Linked DNA regions of Homo sapiens: all the other regions are linked to region 1. Evidence: promoter capture Hi-C in human tissues and cell types (Jung and others, 2019). All regions are on one chromosome and are shown on one strand. The core of a region is centred on a gene start or on the middle of the fragment in contact, and the rest is flanking DNA. Distances in the headings are between cores, read along the strand shown. Region 1 holds the start of POU4F2 (POU class 4 homeobox 2). Region 2 overlaps SLC10A7 (solute carrier family 10 member 7). Region 3 overlaps TTC29 (tetratricopeptide repeat domain 29). Region 4 overlaps SLC10A7 (solute carrier family 10 member 7). Region 5 overlaps TTC29 (tetratricopeptide repeat domain 29).

The links. The method cuts DNA at HindIII sites, captures the fragments that hold promoters and counts their contacts. A contact is called where the count stands out against the background at its distance.
Region 2: a fragment that was not itself captured here is called in contact with the fragment with the promoter of POU4F2 in region 1 in 2 of the 25 tissues and cell types used here (dorsolateral prefrontal cortex and thymus).
Region 3: a fragment that was not itself captured here is called in contact with the fragment with the promoter of POU4F2 in region 1 in 5 of the 25 tissues and cell types used here (adrenal gland, aorta, mesendoderm cells and 2 more).
Region 4: a fragment that was not itself captured here is called in contact with the fragment with the promoter of POU4F2 in region 1 in 2 of the 25 tissues and cell types used here (mesenchymal stem cells and small bowel).
Region 5: a contact is called between a fragment that was not itself captured here and the fragment with the promoter of POU4F2 in region 1, in 5 of the 25 tissues and cell types used here (H1 embryonic stem cells, adrenal gland, bladder and 2 more).

The regions. Positions count from the first base shown.
Region 1 is chr4:146,637,469-146,640,168 of GRCh38, forward strand. POU4F2 (POU class 4 homeobox 2) reads left to right here and starts at 1,425. Exons shown (of 2, transcript NM_004575.3): 1 at 1,425-1,960; 2 at 2,399-2,700. The coding sequence starts at 1,673. RefSeq lists enhancers at 1-360, 361-942, 943-1,523, 1,524-2,105. The HindIII fragment of the contact is 18,734 bases long and covers 1-2,700 here.
Region 2 is chr4:146,252,212-146,254,911 of GRCh38, forward strand. It overlaps SLC10A7 (solute carrier family 10 member 7), which reads right to left. Exons shown (of 12, transcript NM_001029998.6): 12 at 1,770-2,700. Among named protein-coding and RNA genes, the nearest start is that of REELD1, 39 kb to the left of the region's middle. The HindIII fragment of the contact is 5,085 bases long and covers 1-2,700 here.
Region 3 is chr4:146,922,651-146,925,350 of GRCh38, forward strand. The region is part of intron 4 of TTC29 (tetratricopeptide repeat domain 29); the gene reads right to left. Among named protein-coding and RNA genes, the nearest start is that of TTC29-AS1, 10 kb to the right of the region's middle. The HindIII fragment of the contact is 3,987 bases long and covers 1-2,700 here.
Region 4 is chr4:146,360,429-146,363,141 of GRCh38, forward strand. The region is part of intron 5 of SLC10A7 (solute carrier family 10 member 7); the gene reads right to left. Among named protein-coding and RNA genes, the nearest start is that of MIR7849, 47 kb to the right of the region's middle. The HindIII fragment of the contact is 5,669 bases long and covers 1-2,713 here.
Region 5 is chr4:146,940,050-146,942,825 of GRCh38, forward strand. All of the region lies in intron 2 of TTC29 (tetratricopeptide repeat domain 29), which reads right to left. The region is part of intron 1 of TTC29-AS1 (TTC29 antisense RNA 1); the gene reads left to right. Among named protein-coding and RNA genes, the nearest start is that of TTC29, 4.4 kb to the right of the region's middle. The HindIII fragment of the contact is 6,299 bases long and covers 1-2,776 here.

The sequences.
Region 1 (2,700 bases), core at 175-2,674:
AGCAGCCCCCAACACCGCGGGAAGTATAGAGAAAATGGGATCCAGAAGGAGAGGAAGTAGTGTGTGTGTGTGTGTGTGTGTGTGTGTGTGTGTGTGACAGAGAGAGAGAGATAGATAGAAAGAGATTATCTCCTTTTGCAACTGGAACCAAGAGTGTGTGTCCATCTCTAGGAAAAGTGGTCTGCACTGGGACTGGGACAGAAGTGGGAGTGAAGTGTCAGCTAAAAATAGGCTCCGCACCGAGAGGCTGTGGAAATGAAGATAAGTGAGGTTTGTGCCAGCCCCCGAGGGTGTGTGTGTGTGTGTCTGTGTTGTGGGGTGTATTCAGCAGCATATGCGCTGTGTAATTTCTGACCTTCCCTCTCCCTGTCAGTTGCCCCTTCTTCCTTTGATTGTGGCTAATGAAGAATAATAAATCCAGGGGCAGGGTTTGCCAGTGGATCCTTCCAAGACTCAACTCGAACTGTACTGGATACAGGGAGGAGGAGGAAGAGAAAAGGGGGGCAAGAGGAGCGTGTGTGTGTGCCTGTGTGTATGTGTGTGTGTGTTGTGGGAGGGGTGGGGACAGCGGGGAGGGGGAGGAGTCGCATGCGCACAGACGACCCGAGCCTGCTCCGCGGCTGTCCAATCCGCTGAGAGCTGCGAGAAATCGAGTGAGAGAAAGCCCTGCAGCCCCTCCGACCCCATGTCTCTTTGGCACCAGGCACCCGCCGGGCCGTGGGGGGCTCGTAGCCGAACGCCGACCTCCGCTCGTATTGGGCTGGGAGTTCAGAGCCGCGCGCAGAACCCGGGTTGGCCGCAACGTCTGTGTTCTCAGCGGTGGCCGGGAACCTGGGATCAGGGTCACCTGAGCTGACGGGGTGGGGGCGGGCCGAGTGGGGTTGGAAGCCTGGAACTTAGTGGTAAGCAGGAGGCGTAGGAGGTGGCAGCCAGGTAAGAGGCACTCTTACCTACCCAACGCTGGCTTGGGCCGCAACTTTATTTGGGAGTTTCTTTTTCCGGTGAGACAGAGACCCGGCAGAAGAAGCGGGAGGGGCTGGAGGCTGGTCCTTAGGTAGGCACTGCCCGGCGACTGGAGCGCGGACCTGGCCATTTGGGTGGGGTTGAGTGGGGGCGCGATTGTGAGTAGCAGCCGCGGGACGCTGCGAAGGGGCGGCGGCAACAGAGCACGGGCGGGGGCAGAAAAGAGGCGGCGGAGGGCGCGGTGGGGGAGCGCGAGGCGAGTGCTGAGAGAGCAGAAAGGACTCAAGCCTGAGGGGAGTAGAGAGGAAGAAGGGGCAACGCGAGAAACCGAACAGGAGCCGGCGTTTCCTGGCAAGGGAGGGCGGAGGCGCGCGGGAGAGAGGGAGAGAGGGAGGGCGGGGGGCGCGGGGGTAGGCGCGGGGAGAGGGGAGTATAACTCGCCGGCCGCGAGGAGCGGGGGCAGTTTCGGGTGCCGAGGTCTGCAGCTAGCGGCAAGCGGAGTCAGGCATCCGTTCAGACTGACAGCAGAGGCGGCGAAGGAGCGCGTAGCCGAGATCAGGCGTACAGAGTCCGGAGGCGGCGGCGGGTGAGCTCAACTTCGCACAGCCCTTCCCAGCTCCAGCCCCGGCTGGCCCGGCACTTCTCGGAGGGTCCCGGCAGCCGGGACCAGTGAGTGCCTCTACGGACCAGCGCCCCGGCGGGCGGGAAGATGATGATGATGTCCCTGAACAGCAAGCAGGCGTTTAGCATGCCGCACGGCGGCAGCCTGCACGTGGAGCCCAAGTACTCGGCACTGCACAGCACCTCGCCGGGCTCCTCGGCTCCCATCGCGCCCTCGGCCAGCTCCCCCAGCAGCTCGAGCAACGCTGGTGGTGGCGGCGGCGGCGGCGGCGGCGGCGGCGGCGGCGGAGGCCGAAGCAGCAGCTCCAGCAGCAGTGGCAGCAGCGGCGGCGGGGGCTCGGAGGCTATGCGGAGAGCCTGTCTTCCAACCCCACCGGTGCGTATTTCTGCATAATCACCGCTTAAAGGCACATTTTGACAGCCCCCTTTATCTGCTTGATGTTTTTTTCATGTCTGCACAGCAAATCACCCCACACCTCCAACCAATTTTCCCCTCTCTCTCTCTTAAGTATTCAGCAGGTCTTGCCTTTCATATTAATTTTTATGACCTGGGATGTTGCCTGTGCGCGTGTTGTGTTGTGTTTCGTTGTGTCTACAGGCTCACTTTCCTCCTCCTCCTGCACTCTCGGCTTCTTTCTGTGGCTTCCCTCTTTTTCTCTTCACCTCTGTTTTCAGGATTATTATTATTATTATTTTAACGATCTGGGAATGTTGTAGGCGCGGCGACGGTGTCGAGCCCTGGGCCGGGGCTTCCGGAGAGAGGGCGTACAATTCCCTGCTGAGCGTAATGTGTGCCTTCTACTTACAATTGCAGAGCAATATATTCGGCGGGCTGGATGAGAGTCTGCTGGCCCGCGCCGAGGCTCTGGCAGCCGTGGACATCGTCTCCCAGAGCAAGAGCCACCACCACCATCCACCCCACCACAGCCCCTTCAAACCGGACGCCACCTACCACACTATGAATACCATCCCGTGCACGTCGGCCGCCTCTTCTTCATCGGTGCCCATCTCGCACCCTTCCGCGTTGGCGGGCACGCACCACCACCACCACCATCACCACCACCACCACCACCAACCGCACCAGGCGCTGGAGGGCGAGCTGCTGGAGCACCTGAG
Region 2 (2,700 bases), core at 46-2,545, 390 kb before region 1:
GTGGGCAGAGTGCCTGAGCTCAGAAGTTCGAGACTGGCCTGGGCAACATGATGAAATCCCATCTCTACTAAAAATACAAAAACTTAGCCAGGCTTGGTGGCAAGTGCCTGTAATCCCAGCTACTTGGGAGGCTGAGGCAGGAGATCGCTTGAACCTGGGAGGCAGAGGTTGCAATGAGCTGAGATCACGCCTCTGCACTCCAGCCTGGGTGACAAGAGCGAGACTCCATATCAAGAAAAAAAGAAAAAAGTTTGTACATCCCCAGACTTTCAGTGTGTTGAGACTTCTGTAGTGATCAAGTAACTGGAGCTGAATTCCATGTCTGGGTGGATGAAGTTCACAGAAGAGAACAGCCATGGCGTTTGAGATGCCGGAGAGTTCAGAAGTGGGTGGAGATCTGGGAGAGCCCGTTTCAGGTGATTTGGATGAGGACCCTATGATCCAGCATGACCCTGTGATTTCAGTGCCTTTGTTTGCACTCGTGTTGACAACCACACCGCACCCTGCTAGAGTGACAGTGTTCAATGTTTAATACAGAGTTTCTCATAATCAGGTTTGAAGAGAAGTTCTCCAGAGTCTACAAAATTTTTTTCCCTTTAAATGGGTTTTGCATTTTACTCACATTTGAGAAAAACTGTCCTATAGTGCAACTAAGATTTGTTAAAGAAAGTCTTATAAGACCTTTCATATATTGCCTGTATACAAACTGACGATGATAATTTTTATCTAGTTTTTAAAGTAAGTACATCAGAATTTCTATAAGGAAATCTTTTATTTTTTATGTATATAAAGCTTTCATCAATTCAGATCGATCTAACTTGATTTAGCTTAAATTACTGAGGGTCTATTGTTCTGTCAAGGCATGCAAGATGAAAGTTGCTTGCATATCATACCTGCAGTCTTGCCTTGGAGAGTTAATATTTACACAGCTATGAAGTAATATATTCCTATGAGGAGCACAAGGCAGTGCTTCACAGTTTATTCACAATAGGAATTGTAGTAAAAGAGTCAGTTTTCCTTATAAATTAATAATGACCCGATATAGAGAAGAGTGCTTGTAATTGTGAAGGTTCATGTCCTACCTATTAAGATCACAATTTGAAAAGTCAATACACATTTTTTGGCTACTACTTTGAGCCAGGCATTGTGCGAGGCACAGTAGAAAAACAGAAATGTTTACTGCACTGGAGGAGACAGCAATATAAACTAATGATTAAACTATGCAGAGGTTTCAGAAGACTTGAGGGACACGTTGTAAGGACATGTCAAAGGACGCAAGTATGGCACTGGCTTGGGAAGTCTTCATGGAGGAGGTGACATTTTTGTCAGGCTTCCAGGGGAAGAGGATTTCTATGCCAAGAAGACAGCAAAGACAAGAACACAAAGGTATGAAATTCTATACAAGGTAGCTTGCTCATCAAAGAAACACTGGTGTTGGGAATGGCATTCTAAGGTTTATCATTCCTATTTCTCAAAACTGAAATTCAGATCACTTACATTTTGTCCCTTCTGCTGCATATGTTTTCCTTTTGGTCCTAAACCTTGATGCAGAGAAAATATCTCTCATAAAAAGGCAAGGGCTACCTCTAGATTTTAACATCATGGTGTGGTGGAGGTACCCATAGAAATACCCGGGAGACTATGAAGTTTACATCTATATAACGACAAATGACATAACGGTGCAGAAATGAATCAAGAGAAATCTAAAGACACTTAGAAGGCATCACAAGGCCATCTGAAATCAGGTTAAAAATAAGCCACAGTTTCTCTTGTGATTTCTGAAACATTCTTTGTTTAATCATATAATTATTTTCATCTTCCAGTCATCATAAATAATCCACTTTATGACTTAACCAATCCTTTTGAAAAAATTTGGTATTTAGCACAAACACTGAACATTAGCTAGAGGTGTGTTAATTTTTAACAGAATAGGGAAAAATTTTAAAAAACCCACAAAAATTTTAATACTAAGAAAAAACATGAAAATACCAACATTATTACCCATTAAAAAATCTAATTTTGTAACAACCATTAAAAAAAATCCAGGTGGAAAAATGAGTAAACATAAATATAATCTAATGTATTTCTTTCATAAATACATTTAGACAAAACAAATGCATAAAACAGATAGCTTTACAGTGTATAAACATAACAAAATATTTTAAGCTCTGAATAATTAAATCCCAATAAGCATGAATTAAAAATAAATTTTGATTTTATTTTTTGTTCTTTATGAAAAAATATGCCAAGGAATTTGTGTAAAAAAAAGAAATAGGCATAAACATATCACTAACGCCACCAAAGTTCACTATGTAAAGATTATTTGAAAACAAAGCACATTTTTAAAGCAAACGATAAAATGTTATCATAGCATTTTCAGTTGAATTTTATCCCATGATCACACCTACTATAGGTGTTAGACAATAGAGGTAGATAAGTTGGGGGCGGGGATCAGTATTTTAATGTTAGGGAGAAAGATTTTTATGATAGGGCAGATAGATGACAGACAGACAGACACTTCCATTTACTCCAAAATTCAAAGAAACTTGTAGGAACAAAACCTAAGAGCCTTCCTGTGCTCCATAGGTAAGCACAATTACCTAAGCAAAATTACTGTAGTTTTAGACACAAGTAAAATTCTTTATAACAGTGTGTACTACAGCCTGGTTAGCATAGATTTTTGCAGGATCTGGCATTAGC
Region 3 (2,700 bases), core at 90-2,589, 290 kb after region 1:
AAAGAGTTTAATTAACATGCTGAAGATCACACACACCTGTGAGTGATGGAGCTGGTTCATCAACAGAGGCAGTCCAACCCTAGACCCCGTATTATTAGCCATCATTATCTTTACACTCCCTCCAAGATACAGAGAATATTTCAAGAAATATAGAAGAGGCTTTAACATTATTAGAAAATATCATGTTAAACTTTATTGCAGTAAATATAAAATTTTACATAAATAGGCACTTATTTTTTAAAATAACAATAGCTGGAGAAGATTTAGAAGACCAGTTACAAGACCTACCTACCCCTTTTCCCCTGACCCCTACTCTCACCAAAGGAGAGAAACTATTCTGTTTTACATGGGAGTTCTACCAAATTTTCAATACTAAGAAATTCCCATTTCATCCAAAATGTGCTAGAGCATTGAAACGGATAAAAAATTATTTAGTCAATTTTACAAAATACAAGTAACCATTGTAATTTCTTTCACTGGGGGAGGGCCCAGAAAGACTGCAGAGGAAGAGATGTTTCTAGGTCCTTGCATTATCTGAAAAAATTTTTAATTTGCCCTCACTTTTAATTGAATAAGATAAAAATTCTTTAGCCAATTTTACAAAACCTTAAACTGTAGCATAAGAAAATTAAAATCGTAGCTCAATATCATTATTATTTAGATACAAAAATCACACACGCGCGTGCACACTAACACACAGAGAAGTCAATAAATCGAAACCATCGTAAGTAGAGTTTATCTCAGAATTGGAAGAATAGTTCAAAATAGAAAATCTAGTAACTTTAAATAATCTAGTAGGTGCTAGAAAATTATTTCACAAGGTTCAACACTCACACATGATTAAGAAAAATAGAAACTAAAAAAAAGTTTCTTTATCTTGGTAACGTGTATCTATTAAAAAACCTATGGCAAAGGGCTTTCTCTTTGGGATACATTAGAATAGTCTTCACTGAAGCCAGGAATGTGAAGAGACGCCGCTGTCAATGCTATTATGTAACATCATTGAAATGAAAGGTCCTTGTTAATGTGGGACTCAGTATTTTAATAATGTCAGTTCTCCTAAAATAACATATGAACTTAACACAATCCCAATAAAAGCTTAATGATATTTCCCCAACTCTTGACAAGATAATTCTAAAATTCATATAAAACAGTGAATATACAAGAAAAACTTTCTCATTTGGAACAAAAGGGACTGTCTGCCAAATATAAGAATGCATTTCAACTATATTGATAAAAAGATTAGTGGCATTAATATAAGAAAAGGCAAATAAATCAATATAACAGAATATATATGTACATGTATGTGTATAGGTATATGCATACACACATGAAAATTTGGCATTTAATAAAAGGAACATTTCAATTCAGGGTAAAGTTTTTAGGACAACTGATTTGCAAATATTACTGGTTTTATTTTTTTAGATTAATATTTTATATTCAACAAATAACATATATATAGCATGTGCTATATTACTTTTCTGCACTTAAGAATATACTTAATACACTTAAATCTCAGTTTCCTGATCATCTCCTTAACCCTAATTAATACATGTGATAGGTTTATATTAACATTGTCATGAAGATCTTTCAGCTGCTTAATCATATTATTTGCCAGAGAATTAGTTGAGAACTGTTTCTTCCTTTTCTATTTTCTTGAAGAGTTCGTGTTGAGTTTGTCATTATTTCTTCCCCTAATGTTAGGTAGAATTCATTAGTGGAGCCACATGGGGCTGGAATTTTCTTTGTAGGAAGTTTTTTTAACTATAGATTTAATGTCTTTAATAAATATAAATCTCTTCTGTTATCTGTTTCTATGTAAGTGAACTTTGGCAGTGTCTTTTGAGAAATTTAGCCATTTCATCTAAGTCGTTGAGTTTATCAGCATAAAGTTTATCTCCTAGTAACACTTTAATATCTGTGTAATCTGTAGTAATATGTCCCTTTTCATTTCCCAAATTGGTAAACTGTGTCTTCTATTTTTTCTCTGATCAGTTTGACGAATGGTTGATCAATTTTTTTTCAAAGAACCAGCATTAGTTTCATGGGTTTTTTGGTTGCTTTCTGCCCTTATTTTACTATTCCTTTTTCTCTACTAACTTTGAGTTTAATTTGCTTTCTTTTTCCAGTTTTTGAAAATGAAAACTTAGAAAATTAATTTTGGATATTTATATTTTTCTAATACAAGCATTTTAATGCTATAAATTTCCTTTTAAGCACTGCTTTAGCTGTATCCCACAAATTTTGACATGCTGTGTTTTCTTTTTCATTCAGTTAAAATATTTTCTAATTTGACTTGTGATTTCTTCTTTGATTCAGGGGTTATTTAGAAGTATGTTGTCTTGCTTCCCAATTCGGGAAGATTTTCCAAAACTCTTTCTGCTATCATTTTTAACTTAATTTCATTCCTGTAGGAGAACACAGTTGGAAGGATTTAAATTGTTTAAACATGTTAAAATTTGTTTTATGGCCCAGACTATAATCTACTTTGATAAATCCTCCATGCACAGTTGAACATAATGTATTCTACTGTTGTTTGGTGGAATATTCTGTAAGTGTCAATTACTTAAGGTGATTAAAGGCATTGTCCAAGGCTTCTATATTCCTACTGGTTTTTCTACCAGCTATTGAAAGAGTGATGTTGGAATCTCCAACAAAAATTATGGGTTTTTCTACTTCTCCTCTTCTTTCTATCAGTTT
Region 4 (2,713 bases), core at 67-2,566, 280 kb before region 1:
CCTTTCTTCTTCTTCTTTTTTTTAATCTCTGAGACAGGGTCTTGCTTTGTTGCCCAGGCTGGAGTATAGTGGCACAATCATAGCTCACTGCAACCTCAAACTCCTGGGCTCAAAATATCCTACTGCCTCAGCCTTCTGAGTAGCTGGAAACACAGGCAGGCAACACCACACCTGGCTTTTTGTTTGTTTGTTTGTTTGTTTTTTTGTTAGTAGAGACAAGGTCTTGCTACATTACCCAGGTTGGTTGCAAACTTCTTAGCTCAAGTAGTCCTCTCTCCTCAGACTCCCAAAATGCTGGGATTACAGGCATGAGCCACCATGCCCAGCCTCTCTTTCTTTTTAAATCAAGTCACTGAAGCTTGAAGAGGAAGAGTACTTTCCCAAGTTCGTTTAGCAAGAAAGAAGTAAACTAGGATTCAAAGCCTGGAAGTTGGTCTTCAGAGCTTAGGAGTCAACAAATATACAGATCTGATTAGGTCACCCCCCGGCTCACCTATAAGTTCAATGAACTTATTCTCTGGGCTGGGCCTCTGTGCATGCTGTTCCCTCTACTAGGAACATGTATTTTCTGCTCTCTACTCCCTACAACCCCTTTCCTCATCTTTCAGGTATCAGCACTCCTGAGGTCCCTAGAATGGATTAAAGTCTTTAACATATACTCCCATAGTTCCCTATCTTCTCCTATCATAGCATTTATCACATTATATTTTAATAATTGTCTTCTCCACTAGATGAAAACTCTGAGGAAGCAGGGCAATCTATCTTGCTTCTTATTGTTCTGTGGCACTCATATAATGCCTAATTTGTGGTATGCACTCAACAAATATTACTTAAAGTTAAAAATGTTGGCAAAATATTTTGTGATTTATTGTTCAATGAGAAATATAACAGATAATCAAAATGCAAAATAAACCATCAAATAAAAATTATATTCTTTCACAATATAGCTTCTAAACAGATCATCAAGAAGGTTGTAAAGACATGTAGAAAGTGACCGACTTGCCTGGTAATCCAGGAAATTCTCCCTTATTTCCACAAGTCTGCCAGGGTCATTTATCTAGAAGGCTGCAACAGTTGCAGTATTGCTGGGCTTATGGCACCCCCCTAGTGCTGAAATGGCTGCAGTGAGCACAGACACAGGTTGCAAAACTCCTTTGAATTCCTGGAAAGCCCTCTCAAGAAGGATGAGTACAAACAGGTCCAGACTGTGAAGAATGGAATAAATACCTAAATCTTTAATGCTCAGACATGGATAAATGTCCAAAAGCATCAGAAACATCCAGGAAAACATGACATCAACAAACAGACTAAATAAGGCACCAGTGACCAATTCTGGAGTGATGGAGATATGTGACCTCTCAGACATGGAATTTAAAACAGCTGTCTTCAGGAAGCTCAATGAATTCAACATAACACCTGAGAAGAAATTCAGAATTCTGTTAGAGAAATTTAACAAAGAGATTGACATTCTTTTAAAAATCAAGCAAAAATTCTGGAGCTGAAAAATTTGATTGACAAACCGAAAAATGTATCAGTCTCTCAACAGCAGAATTGATCCAGCAGAAGCAAGAATTAGTGAGCTTGAAGACAGGTATATAAAAATACACAGCCAGAAAAGGAAAAATAAAAAAGAATAAAAAAGAATGAAGTATGCCTACAAGACATAGAAAATAGCCTCAAAAGGGCAAATCAAATCTAAGAGTTATCGGCCTTAAGAGGCTGTAGAGAAAGAAATCAGGGTAGAATGTTTATTCAAAGAAATAATAATAAAGAACTTTCCAATTCTAGAGAGAAATATTAATATCCAGGTAGAAGAAGGTCAAAGAACACCAAGCAGATTGACCCTAAATAAGACTACTCCAAGACATATAATAATCCAACTCTCAAAGGTCAAGGAAAAAGAAAGGATGCTAAAAACAGCAAGAGAAAAGAGGCAAATAACATATAAATGATCCCTGATATGTCTGGCAGCAGACTTCTCCATGAAAACGTTACAGGCCAGGAGGGAGTGGGATGACATATTCAAAATGCTGAAGGAAAAAATATTTCAACCTGTAATACTATATACAGCAAAATTATCTTTCAAACATGAAGAACAAATAATGTTGTAAATGTAAGTACACAAATACAGAATACTCTAATAATGTAAACCACTCATATCTTCAGTAGAATGAATATACAAATCTATTAAAAATAATAGATTAAATCTAATAAAAATAATAACTACAACAATTTGATAATAGACAATATAATAAGATATAGAGACAACAAAAAGTCAAAATGTGAAATGAATGAATTTAAAGCATGAGATTTTTAGTTTTTTCCTTGCGTGTTTTTTTCTTTGTGATTAAAGTTTTCATCGTTTTAAAATAATTGGTTATAAGATGTTATTTGCAAGCCTCATGCTAAACACAAAGCAAAAATCTATAACACAGACACAAAAAGTAAAAAGCAAGAAATTAAAAGATACTGTGAGAGAAAAATTACTTATAAACAAAAGAAAACAGAAAGAAAATAAAAAAGACAGGACCAACAAAACTACCAGAAAACACATAATAAAAAAAGCAGTAGTAAGTGCTTACCTATAAATAATAACACTGAATGTAAACGGACCAAATTCTCCAATCAAAAGACAAAGTGGCTAAGTAGATTTTTTAAAACAAGACCCAACAATATGCTGCCTACAAAAAACTCAATTCACCTATAAAAACAC
Region 5 (2,776 bases), core at 88-2,587, 300 kb after region 1:
AGTGAGTGGATTCTGCAGGTTGCTTCTCTCATTATTTTCTTCCATTGTCTGCTTTTTGGCCAACTTATTATTTGTCTGTATCTTCAGCACAAAGTAGATAAGAAGAAAATTTGATAAATGCATTGATGGTTCAGTTGGCATCTTTGGTAAGAGTTTTGTAAGGGACATGATTGCAATTAAAGAATAAAGATTTTAAGGATAGCTATGGATTTCCAATGTTTATGTGTTGCTTTCCTGTTACAATCAATAATTGAAAATTGCTTATACTTGCTGTTTTCTAAAAGCCTTATCGCTCACAAATAAAGGCTTTCCCTTAGATGTGATAGATGATAAGAACAATTCTCAACAAGGAGACAGCTACCCTGAGAAAGCACACAGCCATAACAATATAATGAATCACTTCAAAATGTACTGTTTTTTAAAAGTTGTTTAAAACAACTTTATCTCACACTTTACATGGTTCAGGAATAAGGACAGGGTATCATAGGCATGGATTTTTTCTCCTCCATGATGATGGGAGCCTCTGCTGAGAAAACTCAGAAGCTGTAGTAACCCAATGACAGGGGACAGGAATCACCTTGAAGTGTCTTCACTCACTTTTCTAGTGGTTGATGCTGTTAGCTGGGACTCAACTGGGGCTATCTGCCAGAACTCACACATGTGGTCTCCTCATGTGGCATGGACTCCCTCACATCATGGCAACCTAAGACTTCTTATATAGCAGCTCCAGGCTCCAAAGGCAAGTATTTTAGAGAAAAGCCAGGCAGAAGCTTTATCCCCTTTTAGGGTCTAACCTTGGAAGTCACATAGCATCCACTTCTACTGTAATAACAAGTTCACCCAGATTCAAGGCAAATGAATACAGAACCACCTATTGATAGGAGAGTGTCAAAGTTTCATTATAATAAAAGAATATGGCATGGGAGATATTATTGCAGCCCTTTTTGGAAAATGCAGTGTGCCAGAGTGGTGAGCAATTAGGAAGGCAAGTCTATAAAATCAAATTATCTAAATCCTATTCCAAAGAGGAAGAAGTGTGGACATGACATCTGTGAACTTAGAATAGAAAAATTGTTACATGGTGCAAGGGCTGTCAGATACAAAAGAACCCATGCTTCTGTTAAATAGAGAGGCATCCAAAAGGCCAGGGGCTCCTGATCCCACCCCGTCTATGTCCACCAGGTTTGACCTGTACTCTTAGCTTCACCAAGAAGCTGAAAGGCTTGTTTTAGGTTTTAAATGGCTTATCTTCAGCATTACTACCTGTGTGACCCAGGGAAAATCACAATAAAATCTGGGCCTTGAATATATTCAGCAGATATTTAATGAGCTCCTATTTGGTGCCAGGCACTGTTCTAGGTGCCAAAGATACAGCAGTGAAGAAAAAGACAAAACTCTCTGATTTCACAGACTTTGCAGTATGGGGGTAAATAGGGAGAAAGACACTAAACAAATAAGCAAAATATATAGAACCTCAGATGTTGATAAGATTCTCTGCTGGAAAACAAAGCAGAGCACTAGAAACTACCCAGATGCTCACCAATGGCAAAGGGATGAGTAAAAGCAGAAGGAGACAAGCTCAAAGACGTTATGGAGAATTTTGTTCGGTGTCCCAATAGTGTAATGTCTTGATGGTTACTCTAAAAACTGGCTTTTATTCTTATTGAGGTAAGAATCCATTGGAGGATACAGAGCATAGAATTGACACGATCTGACTTGCATCCTGAAAAAATCACTCTGAGTTTTTCTTTCAGGTTAGACTGTAGTGGGGGAAAGGGTAGACAGCAGAGAGGCCAGCCCAAAACCTCCTGTGAAATACAGGGGAGAGAGAGTGGTGGCTTAGGTAGGAGTAGAGAAGGAGAGATGTAGTCAAACCTGAAATAGAACCACCTGTGGATAGCTAAGACACAATATTCCTCTAGTGCTACAAAGCCATGGTGGAGGTAGGGGTGCAGAAGCACTAAGACGAGAGAAAATCTTCTGAAATTCAGTGTAGAAATAGACAGCTTTGTGTTACTGAAAAAGATTATTATCCTGGCCTAAAAATAATTTTTTACATAATTAAAGAGAATTCTAATGGAGATCAGTGGTTTATTTTAAATATAACAGAATCCTAGTACTACCAGTTTATCAAGGCATGATATGATCTATGAAACAAAATGCCCACTTATTTTATGCAGTTAAGGCATTAAGAGTGGAAGTTAATGAACATTAATTGGAAAGCAAAGGGTCTACCCTTTAAAGGGTCTATGCTTTAAAGTGCACAATCTAAACAGCAAATGTTAGTCCTCTCCTACAGACTAAACATTAGAAACATACTATATTACCCTTTATAACTTCATAACGTAATGACAATTTTTTTAATTTAAAAAATCTATTTTTCTGATTAGATGTTATATTAAACAGTTGAGTTACTGGAATAACAAGAACTTACTAAATGGCAGCATCATACAGAGCATATGGTAAGAAGTTATAACTCATGTGAGGTTTGAAGGGACACCAAAGCTCCCCAAACGGGCCTCCCAAGAGCTTACTTCAGAGGAGCTGTGAAGACTTTTCCACAGAGTTCCAGAGTCTTCCAATGTTACAGTGAACATCGGAATCATCTAAGTTCTTAACCCACACCAGTGTAGCCCTAGTAAATTTAAAAAGGGAGAGAAGAAAACAACTAAGTTTGCCTCATTTGGGGCATTCCATCCTCTATAAATTTTAGACTCTTTTCTAAAAGCCCCACTTTACTTGCCAAAGCATTATGCAGTGGGCACTGGGGCCAGGG